Linked DNA regions of Homo sapiens: all the other regions are linked to region 1. Evidence: promoter capture Hi-C in 16 types of primary human blood cells and fetal thymus (Javierre and others, 2016). All regions are on one chromosome and are shown on one strand. Each heading gives the region's core, a stretch centred on a gene start or on the middle of the fragment in contact. The rest is flanking DNA. Distances are from core to core; before and after follow the strand shown.

What was found. Contacts are between HindIII fragments. The CHiCAGO score rates a contact against its expected background, and 5 or more counts as called.
Region 2: a contact is called between a fragment that was not itself captured here and the fragment with the promoter of LAMC3 in region 1, in 1 of 17 cell types (M0 macrophages). The highest score is 6.7, in M0 macrophages.
Region 3: a contact is called between a fragment that was not itself captured here and the fragment with the promoter of LAMC3 in region 1, in 1 of 17 cell types (M0 macrophages). The highest score is 5.4, in M0 macrophages.

Annotation. Positions count from the first base shown.
Region 1 is chr9:131,007,717-131,011,813 of GRCh38, reverse strand. LAMC3 (laminin subunit gamma 3) reads right to left here and starts at 2,640. Exons shown (of 28, transcript NM_006059.4): 1 at 2,227-2,640. The coding sequence starts at 2,599. The HindIII fragment of the contact is 4,105 bases long and covers 798-4,097 here.
Region 2 is chr9:130,471,184-130,475,298 of GRCh38, reverse strand. ASS1 (argininosuccinate synthase 1) reads right to left here. Exons shown (of 15, transcript NM_054012.4): 8 at 3,784-3,814. Among named protein-coding and RNA genes, the nearest start is that of ASS1, 28 kb to the right of the region's middle. RefSeq lists enhancers at 2,743-3,479, 3,480-4,115. The HindIII fragment of the contact is 3,447 bases long and covers 1-3,302 here.
Region 3 is chr9:130,444,531-130,448,609 of GRCh38, reverse strand. It overlaps ASS1 (argininosuccinate synthase 1), which reads right to left and starts at 3,649. Exons shown (of 15, transcript NM_054012.4): 1 at 3,615-3,649. RefSeq lists enhancers at 842-1,509, 2,179-2,846 and a silencer at 3,727-3,846. The HindIII fragment of the contact is 165 bases long and covers 2,450-2,614 here.

The sequences.
Region 1 (4,097 bases), core at 1,391-3,890:
CTGGGTTCCCAGGACACATGTGATACCCTTTGTCATGGAGCACTGTGTCTCCCCAACAACTCCCCACCCTGTCCCAGATTCCTTCCCCTGTGGCCTTGGGGTCCTGCCAGCTCCATCCAGACAGCTCCCCCAGCCTCCCCCCTCCCCACTGGCTTCCTGTCCCCTCCCCCTCGTCCCATTCAGAAGCCCCACCTAGTGATCCAGATAGGCTGAGAGAAGGTGACGTGGCCCCAGAAGAAGGGAGTTTCTGAGGTGGCAGCCAGTACCTGTGTGCTCTGCAGAGCGGGCTCACGGTCCTCCCCGCACCCCACTCCAATGTCACTTCCCAGCCCTCCCCAGGACACTGTCACCAGGCTGAGGTGGAGCTGACTCAGTTGATGGGTGGCGGAACTCACATCAAAGAGTTTATGCTCTGACCTCTGATGTCCATGGATGTCCACGCTCAGATGCTCACTTAGCAGCTCTGTGCCTTTGGGCAAAACAACCTCTCTGAGCCTCAATTTTCTCAGCTGAAACATGGGATACAGTCCCATCATCCCTAATCCAAACTCCTAGGCTCCAAATGTGTTTGGGAATTGAACATTTTTCAGCTTTTAGAAAGACGATGCAGGCCTTATACCATATATTGTGCTAATACCCCCAGTGGGGTCTGGGGCTGCCGGCTGTACTCAAATGAGATTTCAGTAGCAAAGCGAATGAATATTCATTCTCACTAGCATAAACATAGCTTATAAATAGCCTCAGGTCAGGTTTAGCAGCAAAAATGAGTTATAAAAATAATTTGAGTTTTCAAAGCTTTGGGAGGCTGACCTCGAAGATAAGGGAGTCTAACCAGTGATACCAGCCCCTCCTGAAAGGGCAGTGGAGGCTGCAACAGGAAAGACACTTGGCGCTTACCCGGCCACAGAGGACATGGGAATCGGGCTGAACACGGAGGGAGGAGAGAGCATTCCAGCTCCCTGCAGTGGGGGCAGGGGCTGAGAACCGGGGCTGGGTCCAGACTCCAGATTCTGATTCCTGGAGATCTAAGGGCTTCTGCACCTCGGCAAGTCATGAGCAGGGCAGAGAGGCCATGCCACCGGGCGCAGCTGCCCAGCAGCACGAAGAAACTTAGTCCTCCTCCCCAGAGGGTTAAACTTTGCCTGTGCAGTGATGAACATCACAGCTTCTATCTTCCAGAACCCACCCGAGGACTGCAGGCAGCTTCAGGGGTCCACTGAATACCTGAAGTTGACCAGAAGACCCAAGATCAGGAGCCCCTGCCCTAGAGGGTGACCAATTCAGTCCTTGGTGTGTCACCTCCCCAACAGTTCTGGTCTAGGATGGAAAACCATTACAGGGGATTATAATTGCAACCTAGAACCAAAGCTCAGCAAGTGACTCCCTGCCTCTCCCGCCCCACGGGGCACCCCTCAGTCTATCCTTCTGGCTATCTAGGGGTACAGGTCCTGTTTTTTTTTCTTCTTTTTTTCATTCTTTCTTTTTATTAAGAGATAAGGTCTCACTCTGTAGCCCAGGCTGTAGCACAGTGGCACTATCATATTTCATGCAGCCTCAACCTCTCAGTCTTAAGTGATCCTCCTGCCTCAGCCTCTTGAGTAGCTGGGACCATAGGTGTGCACCACCACGCCCAGCTTTTTTTTTTTTTTTTTTTTTTTTTTGAGACGGAGTTAGCTCTGTTGCCCAGGCTGGAGAACGGTGGTGCGACCTCGGCTCACGGCAACCTCCACCTCCCGGGTTCAAGCGATTCTCCTGCCCCAGCCTCCTGAGTAGCTGGAACTACAGGCACCTACCACCACGCCCGGCCAAATTTTCTATTTTTAGTAGAGACGGGTTTTCACCATGTTGGCCAGGCTGGTCTCGAACTCCTGACCTCAGGTGATCCGCCCGCCTCGGCCTCCCAAAGTGCTGGGATTACAGACGTCAGCCACCGCGCCCGGCCTATTTTTCTTTATTTTTTGTAAAGATGGGATCTCACTACGTTGCCCAGGCTGATCTTGAACTCCTGGGCTCAAGCGACCCTCCCATCTCGGCCTCCCAAAGTGCTGGGATTTCAGGAGTGAGCCACCGCACCCAGCCTAATTCCTATTTCTGAGCCCCTCCATCCAACACCATATCTGGGTCCTGCAGCCCAACCTGGGCGCACAGCAGCTCAGGCCTCAGCCTCAGACCCCCAGTGGAGTGGGGACACGGGGTGCGGTGGCGGTGCCCCCAGCCCGCGCTTACCTAGGCGGAGGGTGATGTTGACCGAGGTGGGGTACTGCACGCCGAAGGCCATGGACGGGCTCTGCCACCAGGTGCTCTCGTCCTGGCTGTGGAAGTCGGTGAGGTAGGAGGCGTTGTGGTGGCGCTGGGGGTCGGCGGCGTCGCAGCGCTGGCAATGAGCCCCCGCGCCCGCGGCGCCCACGTGGGGACAGAAGTCCTCGGGCGGGCTGCCGCACGTGTGCGAGGCCTGGGCGAGCCGCCCAAACGCCGCGTTCTCGAACACCGGCAGGCAGCGCTGCGGGCGCCCTGCGCCGTCATAGCACGCGCCCATGCCCGCGCCGGCCGCCCGCGGTGCCAGCAGCGCCAGCCCCAGCAGAAGCGCAGCCGCCGCCATGGTCAAGGGCACCGACGCCGCGCGCTCTGCCGGCCCCGCTCGGCTAGGGTGGGCGCGGACCGCGCGCTGGCCGCCAGGACCCGCCTTCCCCTGCGGGGCGGGGAGGCTGGAGGGAGGGGCGGGCGGCGGCGGCCCCACCCCACTAAAAATACCAGGGACCGCGCCGTCCCCGGGCGCCCACTCCCACCTGCTGGACGTGCCCGGCAGTGCGCGGCTCGGGAGTCTGCCCCAGAGGCGACCCGGGCCTCTTTGAGCCTCAGTTTCCTCGTCTGTGGAGTGGGGTCGGTAAAGATGCAGGCTCATTCTCGCCATTGGGAGGCTTCAATGGCTGCTCATTAAACAGAAACTGTTCAGCAGTGCCTTGGAGTCCTGAGATAAAAGGGGACAAGAGGATCTATCTCTAACTGATCGCTACCGTTTGCGCATCTCCTCCTAGCAATAAAGTGTGCCCTGGACAGGGTTGTGAGATGGCTCCGCATAGCTCCTGTCGCCCTTAACCCTGAAAAGCACTCCTGCTGCCGGCTGCGCTCTGTCCCCACAGCAAAGAGATTCTAACCTGACATTTGTGACAAGGGTACCTGGTCTTATCACAAATGTCACCTCAGAGAGGGCTTCCTTGTCTTCTGCCCCAACCCCCATAAATGCCCCCTTTACTCCCCATTTATTAACATTAGCAAATCGAGGGAGAGAAGTCATTCGATAAAATTTAGCAGCCAGGTCGTGCGCGGTGGCTCACGCCTGTAATCCTAGCACTTTGGGAGGTGGAGGCGGAAGGATAACTTGAGGCCAGGAGTTCGAGACCAACCTGGGCAAAATAGTGAGACCCTATCTCTACAAAAAAATACAAAAATTAGCCCGGCGTCATGGCACAAGCCTGTAGTCCCAGCTACCTGGGAGGCTGAGGTGGAAGGATCCCTTGAGCCCGGGAGGTTAGGCTGCAGTGGGCTGTGATCATGCCATTGCACTCCAGCCTGGCCAACAGAGTCAGACCCTGTCTCGAAAAAAAAAAAAAAAAAAAGGCAGCCATTCCCAGACGAACTCTAAGGAAAATAGAAATAAATTTCCTGGCCTGGCGCGGTGGCTCTCGCCTATAATCCCAGCATTTTGGGAAGTTGAGGAAGGCAGATCACCTGAGGTCAGGAGTTCGAGACCAGCCTGGCCAACATAGTGAAACCCCGTCTCTACTAAAAACACAAAAATTAGCTGGGTGTGGCGGTGCGTGCCTGTAATCCCAGCTACTCAGGAGGCTGAGGCAGGAGAATTGTTTGAACCCGGGGGGCAGAAGTTGCAGTGAACTGAGATCATGCCATTGCACTCCAGCCTGGGCAACAAGAGAGAAACTCCATCAAAAAAAAAAAAAAGAAAGAAAAGAAAGAAAGAAAATTTTTGGAAGCAAGATGAACTGTAGTGGGCTGATTCACTACCAGTTATTTACACATGATTAAAACAATACGGTTGTGGAAAGGACTACAGAATAGACCCATGGAATAAGTTAGAG
Region 2 (4,115 bases), core at 330-2,829, 540 kb after region 1:
AACGGGAACATGCTCTGCAGGTGGAAAGGGCAGCTGAAATTCACTCTGGGGGTACATGCTCGGCCCAGCCTCCTCCTCATTCTGCATGGGATGGGGCTACATAAGTGCCTTGGAAGCTCACCTGTGGTCATTTGCCTGTGGCTCTGTGTTAGAGTGACCAAGTGCCCTGATTTCTCCTGGTTTTAGCACTGAAAGTCCTTTGTCCCAAGAAACCTCTTAGTCCTGGGCAAACCAGGACAATTGATCCTTCTAAGACAGGGACTGTGGTGGATCCTCCACCCCCACCTCCAAGGTACGATGTGACTCAGGGCCAGCTGTATCCCTGCATCAGTGCCCATTTGTGGGGCAGGAACAAGAACCCAGAACCTTCCCTGAAGACAGACTCCAGGAGGTAGGAGGGGCCCTGAGGGACCCCCAGCCTGATGCCTCTATGGACCACAGGGAAAGCCAAGGCTGAGAGGTGGCTTCTCCAAACCATGCTTTGGAAGCTAAACACAGGGACTCTTTCCGCCACCTTATGCTGGTTCCCAGCTGCTGTAGTAACCTGGGCTGAGAAACAGGGTGAGGCCTGTGGCCAGAGCCAGCCAGCATCACAGCCACAGGTAGGCATCAGGGCTGGCCCACCCTGCCAACTGCAGCATTCCCTGGGCACAGACGGGTCCCAAGGCTCATCCTCAGCAAAAAGGTAAAGTGAACTGGACTGGATCTTGGGGTGACCACACAACTCCACAGCCCCATCTCCAGCTGCCTGGGACTCCCCCAAGCCTCCAACCAGGGTGCCGGTACGAGGGCCCCACTCCCACCCAAGCCCAGCTCTCTCCCACCTCCACCTGCGCTGGGCCCGACTGTCAACTGTTTTCAATGCGTTGCTTGTCACTTTCTCTCCCGCCACACTTCCTGAGGGAGCCCCAGACCGAAGTGGAGGCTGACAGTGTGTGCATTTGGAAGGAGAGGGGATGGGAAGACTGGAGGACGAGTTTCTGCAGACCGCAGCGGAAGTCAGAGGCAGCTGTCGGGCAGGCACCTGACAGCGCCGATTAAATAAAATAACTAAATAGAAATAAAATGACATTTGCTTTGCATTCCGCGGTGGCTCGAGCGCCTGCCTTCTTTTTACTCTCCTTCCTAAAAGCCCAGTTCTAATGACAAATAGTTTGTTGCCAAGTATCAATGCCATCTATTTATCCCTCCCAGCGGGAGGGCTCACTTCCAATGTCATCTGTGGGGGGGGGGGGGTGCGGGGGAGGGAAGAGAGTGAAGAAAAAGAGAGAGAGAGAGTCGGGGTGGGGGCTAGGGGGAGAGGGCGAAAGAAAGCATGAAACAGGCCCCGAGAAGGAGAAATTGGAAGCAAATGGCCCATGAACTAAACCATGATGTAGAGGCATGATCGATGCCGCAAATGGTTTATTCATCCATCAGCTATGGCGGGCCGGCGACTGAATGAACTCTTTCACTGTGGACCGTATGAAGTTAAAGCAAGTAAATTTCTATCTTTCTTCGCATTAGCTGCCTCATTGCCCTTCAATCAGCCCTCACGGAGGCAGAAAATGGCTCAGCCATCTGCCTTCAAGCCCTCCCTTCCGCAGGTCTCCTGGCTTCTTTTGGAGAGGGGGAGGGGCACGGGTTCCCCAGGCTCTGTTCCCCTGAGCTCATCCCGAGGGGGACAGGGCTGCCAGGTCCAGGGATGCAAGGGTGCGTCCTGACGTTGAGCCCCACCCTCAGCACAAAGCCCTTGGGGAGTCTGCATGGCTGGGGCAAACTTCTTTCCAGAGTGACTGGACTCTGGGTGCCTGGGTGGGACTCTGGGTGCCTGGGTGGGACTCTGGGTGCCCCGGGCCTCTCAGCAGGAACGATGTTTCCCCTGACTCACACCCAGCTTAGCCCAGCCCAGCCTTTCTTGAGAGGGGTCCCTGAGAGGACCTTGGACCCTTCCTCCCATGAAGAGGTAGCATGGGACCCCCAGCTGCATGACTGAGGGCTTGCCCTGAGACAGGCCAAGCGCTTTAGATGCCCTAGGAGGGAGGTGCTGTGTTTTCCCACTTTGGGCAAGGAGTACTGGAGGCTCAGAGAGGTTGGGTAACTTGCTCGAGGTTGCACAGCAATAAGAAGAAAAGTTGGGATTTAGACTCGGGTTTCCTGTCTCTGGGACCCAAGTGTGGGTGAGGTAGCAGGATCCTTAATCCAGATTCTCTTTAGTACTGACTTCTCCACCCAATGCCCTCATGAGACAGGAGGCCTGGGAGGGCGCAGGACCTGCCCACCGTAGCTCAGTAACCTGCTCCAGGCCCCGGATGCCCTCCTGCACGGTCCGAGGGGGTGATTTCCCTCTGGCCTTGCTCTGCTTTCTCAATCCTGAGGTCCTCTATTCTGGGGGGGCCTCCTCTCTGCCCCCATAGGCTGCTTGCAGAGGCCATAGGCTGCTTGGAGAATGGCCGGGAGTGGTTGCCCAGCATGCTTGGGGCCCACGGGCCTGAGAGGATGCCCTGCCTGGAAGCCACCCTGCAGGCTCGGCCTCCCTGCCTCCCTTGGAGCTGACTGACTGGCTAATTAGGGTGGCTGGCCTGAGTGTTGTGGGGTCAGCAGAGCATGAACTAGAAAAACCTGTGACCAGCAGGCAGCAGCCACACACAGGGGCCATCAGCCCCCAGGGGGCAAGGGTGGCAGCTCTCCTGAGTGACAGGTTTGGACAGGGAGGGGCCGTGGGCAGTAGGGGAGCCACAGAGCTGGAGGGCACCAGCCCCAGGGCCCGTTCCCTCGCCCTGAGCAGCCGGTGCCCGGGCCTCAGTTTCCTCAACCATAAAGTGAGGATGCTCCCAGCCAGTGTCCTAGGAACTGAGCCAGGACAATGCCACCCCCGGCCCGCTCCCCAGACATGGTGGCTGCCATGTGATATTACAGCCAACACCGACCAGGGGGCGGCACGCGGGCGTGAGAGTGACAGACGCCCGGGCCCTGGGGGATCCTGGGCGGGGCTCTGGCGCTCCCCAATTTCACCAAACCTCCCCGGGCACCCTCCCCTCCAGCTGGTCTTCTTGATTCCCCCAGGCCCAGCTGCATCCCCTCAAAAAGCACACTTTTCCCGCCTCCAAACCAGCCTCCCCGGGGTGTGGGGCTGGGCCCGGGAACTAAGACACATTCCCTCAGGGACAAAGAGATTTTTCTCTTCCCATGATAGATTTGGCCCTGCCTCCCCCACCTCCCACAGTGGGCAGGGGTAGACACAAAGAAGCCCCCTACCCCCGGGAGAGAAACCCGAAACTTCAAACAGAGCTGAGGGCCCAGTCCAGCCCGCCCGGGAAGCTTGGGACCGGATCAGGGTGGCCGGTGGTGGCGGGTGTGCAACACGGATCCAGACAAATGGGGCCTAGGGCTCTCAGCCATGCCTCCCCCCACCCCCCACAACCAAAACTCCAGCAGCACAGCCTGGGAGCTGGTGGGCACAGGCTGGGCCCTCCCCCAAGTGTCTCATCTGCCTAATTACTTCTTTATTGTCTCACAATCACACTCTCTCTCTATGCTGCCCTGAGATATTTCCTTCCCCTGTTCATCCCAGAGGCAATTAGAAGAGGAAGGGCGGGGGGAGGTCTTCAAATGCAGCGAGGAGACGGTGGGCAGAGGGGGGCCAGTGCGGGGGTCGGGGAACACAGGCAGGGCTCGGCCCCAGCCCCACGGCTGGCCCCCGTGAAATTTCAAATTAGGCTATAAATACATCAGACAGCATCGGCATGGAGCTGCTACCACCAAAGGTGGCCAGCTGGGAGGAGATGGGGTTTGGGGGATTACCTTGGGGTTCTCCAGGATTCCAGCCTCGTAGCTGCGGAGGGGAAAGGAAAGACAGGGTCAGCTGGGGAGGGACATGGCATGTCCCCATCCCCCAACACACACACCCCATTGTGCCCATGAGCCTGGTCTGCCTTTTACTCTCTGCCAGAGCATCTGCTGCCAACCTGCCTGAAACATTCTGGGCCCACCATAGTCACCCGTGGAGCTGCAGGTTGTAAGAAAGAGCTGGGGCCTTTACCTGTCTTCTGGGGACTGCCCCGGGGCTCTGCACGTGGTTGGGGGGGCCTCTGCCTCTGCCTTAAACACTCTTCCCCTGTGCCACATCTGGGCCT
Region 3 (4,079 bases), core at 1,283-3,782, 560 kb after region 1:
CCTGGGTGACAGAGTGAAACTCTGTCTTAAATAAACCAAAAGAAACCAGTGAGCCCCTCCTGCCTGCCAGGTTGTAGCTGGGCAGGTGTGGGCTCTGAGGCCTTCAGCCTCTGGGGCTGGGCAGTGTGAAGCAATGCATGGACCTGGCGTGTGTACCTGAGACAGTGTGTGTGTGTGTGTGTGTGTGCGCGCGCACACACCTGTGTGCACCCAGGGGTGCGTACCTGAGAGTACACAATGTGTGTGCATGCATGTGTGTGATGTGTTTGGGCTTGCACATGTGTGCCTGTGTGCATGCACACGTGTGTGGGTGTTGGGGCCAGTGTATGCATGCAGAGAAATGAGCTGGGCAGATGGGCTTGGGAAAATGATGCAATCAGACAGCAGCGTTGCTCCTGCCCTCCCAGCAGCGGGTGGGGCACCCCCCTCCCTCAGCCTCCGCAGGTCCCTAAGCTGCATTTGCAGCCCGAGGCAAAAACTAAATGAAACTGAGGGTTTGATGTCGGGGGAGGAAGTGACAGGGAGAGAAGGAACCACAGCTGCAATCCAGTGAGCGCTCACTCCAGGCACAGGACAGAGGTCAAGTCCACCAGACATGGGTTTGAGTGGCTTCAGCTCTCTAGCATAACTGCTCAGCTGCAAAATAGGGGTGCAAACAGCCTGCTCCCCACAGGGCGACTGTAAGGATTGGGTGAGATGCTGGGGGAAGGAGCCCAGAGCTGGGCACCAAGCATGTATGTGCCCACTAAGCTCTGTGCACCGCTGCTATGGCTGACCTCAGCCAAGTTCCTGGCTTGCTAAGCCTCAATTTCCTCATCTGTACAACCTGACAGCCCTCTGGGTTCTGACCCTCCCAGACATTGGGCTTTCTTCCTGGGAGCTGCGCCTGGCAGGCAGATCCTGGCTGAATTCAGCCTCCCCTAGTCCCAGCTCCACCCCCACCACATCCCCCAGAAAGGGCCACGGCAGGTTTCTCCAGCTCCCTGGCAAATGCCCACTGCCCTCCAGCCCTCCTTCCCCGGAAGAGACACCTGGGAGGAGGGAAGGTGGCCTCGCGTCAAGGTACCAGAGCCACCTGGCTTTCATTGGGATGGCATTCTCTGTGGCCCCAGCCACAGCCATCTGTCCAGCTTCCAGCAAACAGGCCAGCCTGGGCGCTCACTTGACACTAAGGAAAACTCGTGCTACTTGAAAACGTCAGAGCTGGAATGACAACAAGAGCGGCTACTATGTTCACAGTCACAGGTGCATCCTCTCAAGGTGGAGACTGCCATTACCACCTATTTACAAAGGAGGAGGCAGAGGCTAAGCGGCCAGCCGAGGTCACAAGCTAGCGGCTTCAAACCCAGCCTGACTGCAGGCCACTTGCTCTTCCCTGCACTAGGCCTTCCACTCCCTGGCTCCTAGGAGACCTCAGATCTCCCCTTCACTCTACACACCTTCCAGAAAACCAGCCCCCCAGTGAGTCATGGCCAACCTGCCCACTATTTCTCTGGAGAGCCTGTGTGCTATAGCTCAGGCCTACTGCCCCGTGGAAGATTCCCCTGCAACCCCTCGCTGACATTCTAACTCAGCTGAGCTCGGTTTGTCTTTGGTGATGGACGAAGGGCACATTCATTCATTCGTTCCACTCATATCAAAGTGCCTATGGGTGCCTGGTCGACCCCAAGTCTGGGGAGGGAGCCACGCCCTGGAAGATCAACTTTGCCCAAAGCTACATCAGAAATCAGAGCCTTAGACTCTGAATTCCAGCGAAGTTACCTCTTTCCACATGGGTGCCTGGTGCCCACAGGCAAGCCACTGACTTCAGGGACTGTGTAGTCAGTGCTCAGATGAGGCATCTGGTTGACCTGGCTGGCCTCCCAGCAGGCCAAAGATGAGATGGGCCCGGGTTGGGAGGGGGAAGCGCTTGTGCAGCAGGCTGTTTTGGGCCTGGCTCCACCCCAAGGCTCCTGCGGCCCTGGGCCTGCTTCCCAAGCACTCAGGAATGGAGACTGTGCTGAGAGTGGGGCCTCCCCTTCCCTCTCACGACGTGTCTGCCCCCGCACCGGCCAGGCGCTCAGCAGGCAGGAGTCACTATTCATTCACTTGATCCACCCCCACAGAGCAGAACCAGAATTACTTCTCAGCATGGTGCACAGATGGCCCCGCCAGGACAGGGTCCCGCCCCCACCCCCAAACTTCCCCGCCCTAGGCCTTGGGCCTAAGGGGTCTGGGAGGGAGAGGGAGTTTGGAATGGAGACTCCTCCAGTTCCTGCTCCTAGCCAAGCTTCCCAGTCCGTGTGGCTGCTTCTCCCTCCCTCTCATCAGAACCTAACCCCAGGCACAGTTATTGTGCAATTGGACCCAGGCCCAGCACCCAACAGTCTACAGAGCCCTTAGCAGCCGCACAGTATCTGCAAATGTTTCCTGAGCCCTCAGCCCCAGCCAGCTCTAACAGACTGAAGCTTGGGGGCCAGGCACTTTGGGTGGCTCGAGCCTGTAATCCTAGCAGTTTAGGAGGCCCGAGGGAGGAGGGTCGCTTGAGCCCAGGAGCTCGAGGCCAGCCTGGGCAACATGACGAGTCCACATCTCTGATAAATTTTTAGAAAGAAAAGAAAATGAAAAGGAAGCTTGGGAATCTGGAGGCTGAGCCAAGGCCTCACCAGCTCTCCCCATCACTGGGTTTGTGCTTGCTGGGAGCGGGAGGATCAAAGCCCAAGTCCCCTAGGTCTTGATCTACCCCTGGGGAGAGAACAGGTCTGTTCCTGCCCTGAGACCTGCAGCCTGACTCGGCTGCTCGGGAGTGGACTCTCCACTTCTCAGAGAAGAATACTGAGGCCAGGCCAGCCCTCCTCAGGAACAGCCCTGGCCGCCTGGGAGAGGAGTTTCCTCTCTTTCACAATGACCCTGCCTCCCTGGAGGGCGCAGCCGCCCAGGGGCCAAAGGCAACAGCAGCCCGAATAGAAAATATTCCTGGCACTGCCCCTCCCACAGAGCCCAGCCCAGGCCAGCAGGAAACCCCGCCGCGAGGCCGCCAGCCCCACCGGGGAGGGCCAGGTGGCTGCCGCCCCCTGCAGGGAAGGGAGCCAGGGCCACCATGCCCATCTGTCCAGGGTAAACTGAGGCTGCGGGGAAAGCGATACGTCCAAGCCCCAGAGGGGCTGGACTCCTGGTTTTACGCAGAGAAATAGAGGTGGAGACAGACGGCGAGTCCGAGAGAGGGAGAGAGAATCGGGAGCCCCCCCACACGCTCCGGACTCCCCAGGTCTCCATGTGGGGGCTTCACGACACAGAGGAAGCCGGATCCGACAAGGAGTCCAGAAAGGACCCGGCTGCGCAGGGAACAAATAACCCGAGCCGCTCTTCGGACCCGGGGACTCGCGCCCCCGGGGACTCGCGCCCCCGCCGCGTCCCCCACGCTCCAGAAACCTGGAATCCGGTGCCAGGCGTTTGAGCATCGGGAGCCCCTTCCCTCCTGCCTCGGTCCCAGTCCCCGGCGAGTGGCGATCGGGGTCCGCCCTCTGCCTCCGCGGGCCCCGGGGCGGGCGTCTTCTACGCCTCCTCCTCTGGGCCCGGGAAGCGGGTGCTCTCGGCTAGGGAGTGGGCAGCGAGAGGGGCCGAGGGCTCCTTACCGGGCTCGGGCAGCGGTGGCAGGCGGCAGAGCAGGACTGGCAGGGGTGCCCATCCCAGGTTATAAGCACAGGGCCCGGGGGCAGGGCCGGTGACCGGGGACACGTGGCGGGGACGCGCGCCACAGACCCCGCCCCCGGGCCCGGCCCCCGCCTGGAGCCGCTCAGCGTTCACAGCCACCTGCAGATGGGCGGGGCCCGCCTCCCCAGGCCTCGTCCCCACCTCCCCCCGCCTCCCACCAGGTCCGGGCCTGGGCCCGGCGCCGGCTCACCCTCCCAGGGGCGCGCCGGCGGGGGCGCAGGCGGCTCGCGGTTCCTGGCCCTGGCCCGCGGGCTGGAGGCGCCAAGGAGGGCGGCAGTGGCTGCGACCCATGTAACTCAGGGGCGGAGGGTGGCCGCAGCCGTCCTTCGAGAGACTTGCCTCCTGGCCCTGGGGAAGCAATTTAAACGCTTCGCGGTGGGAGCCGG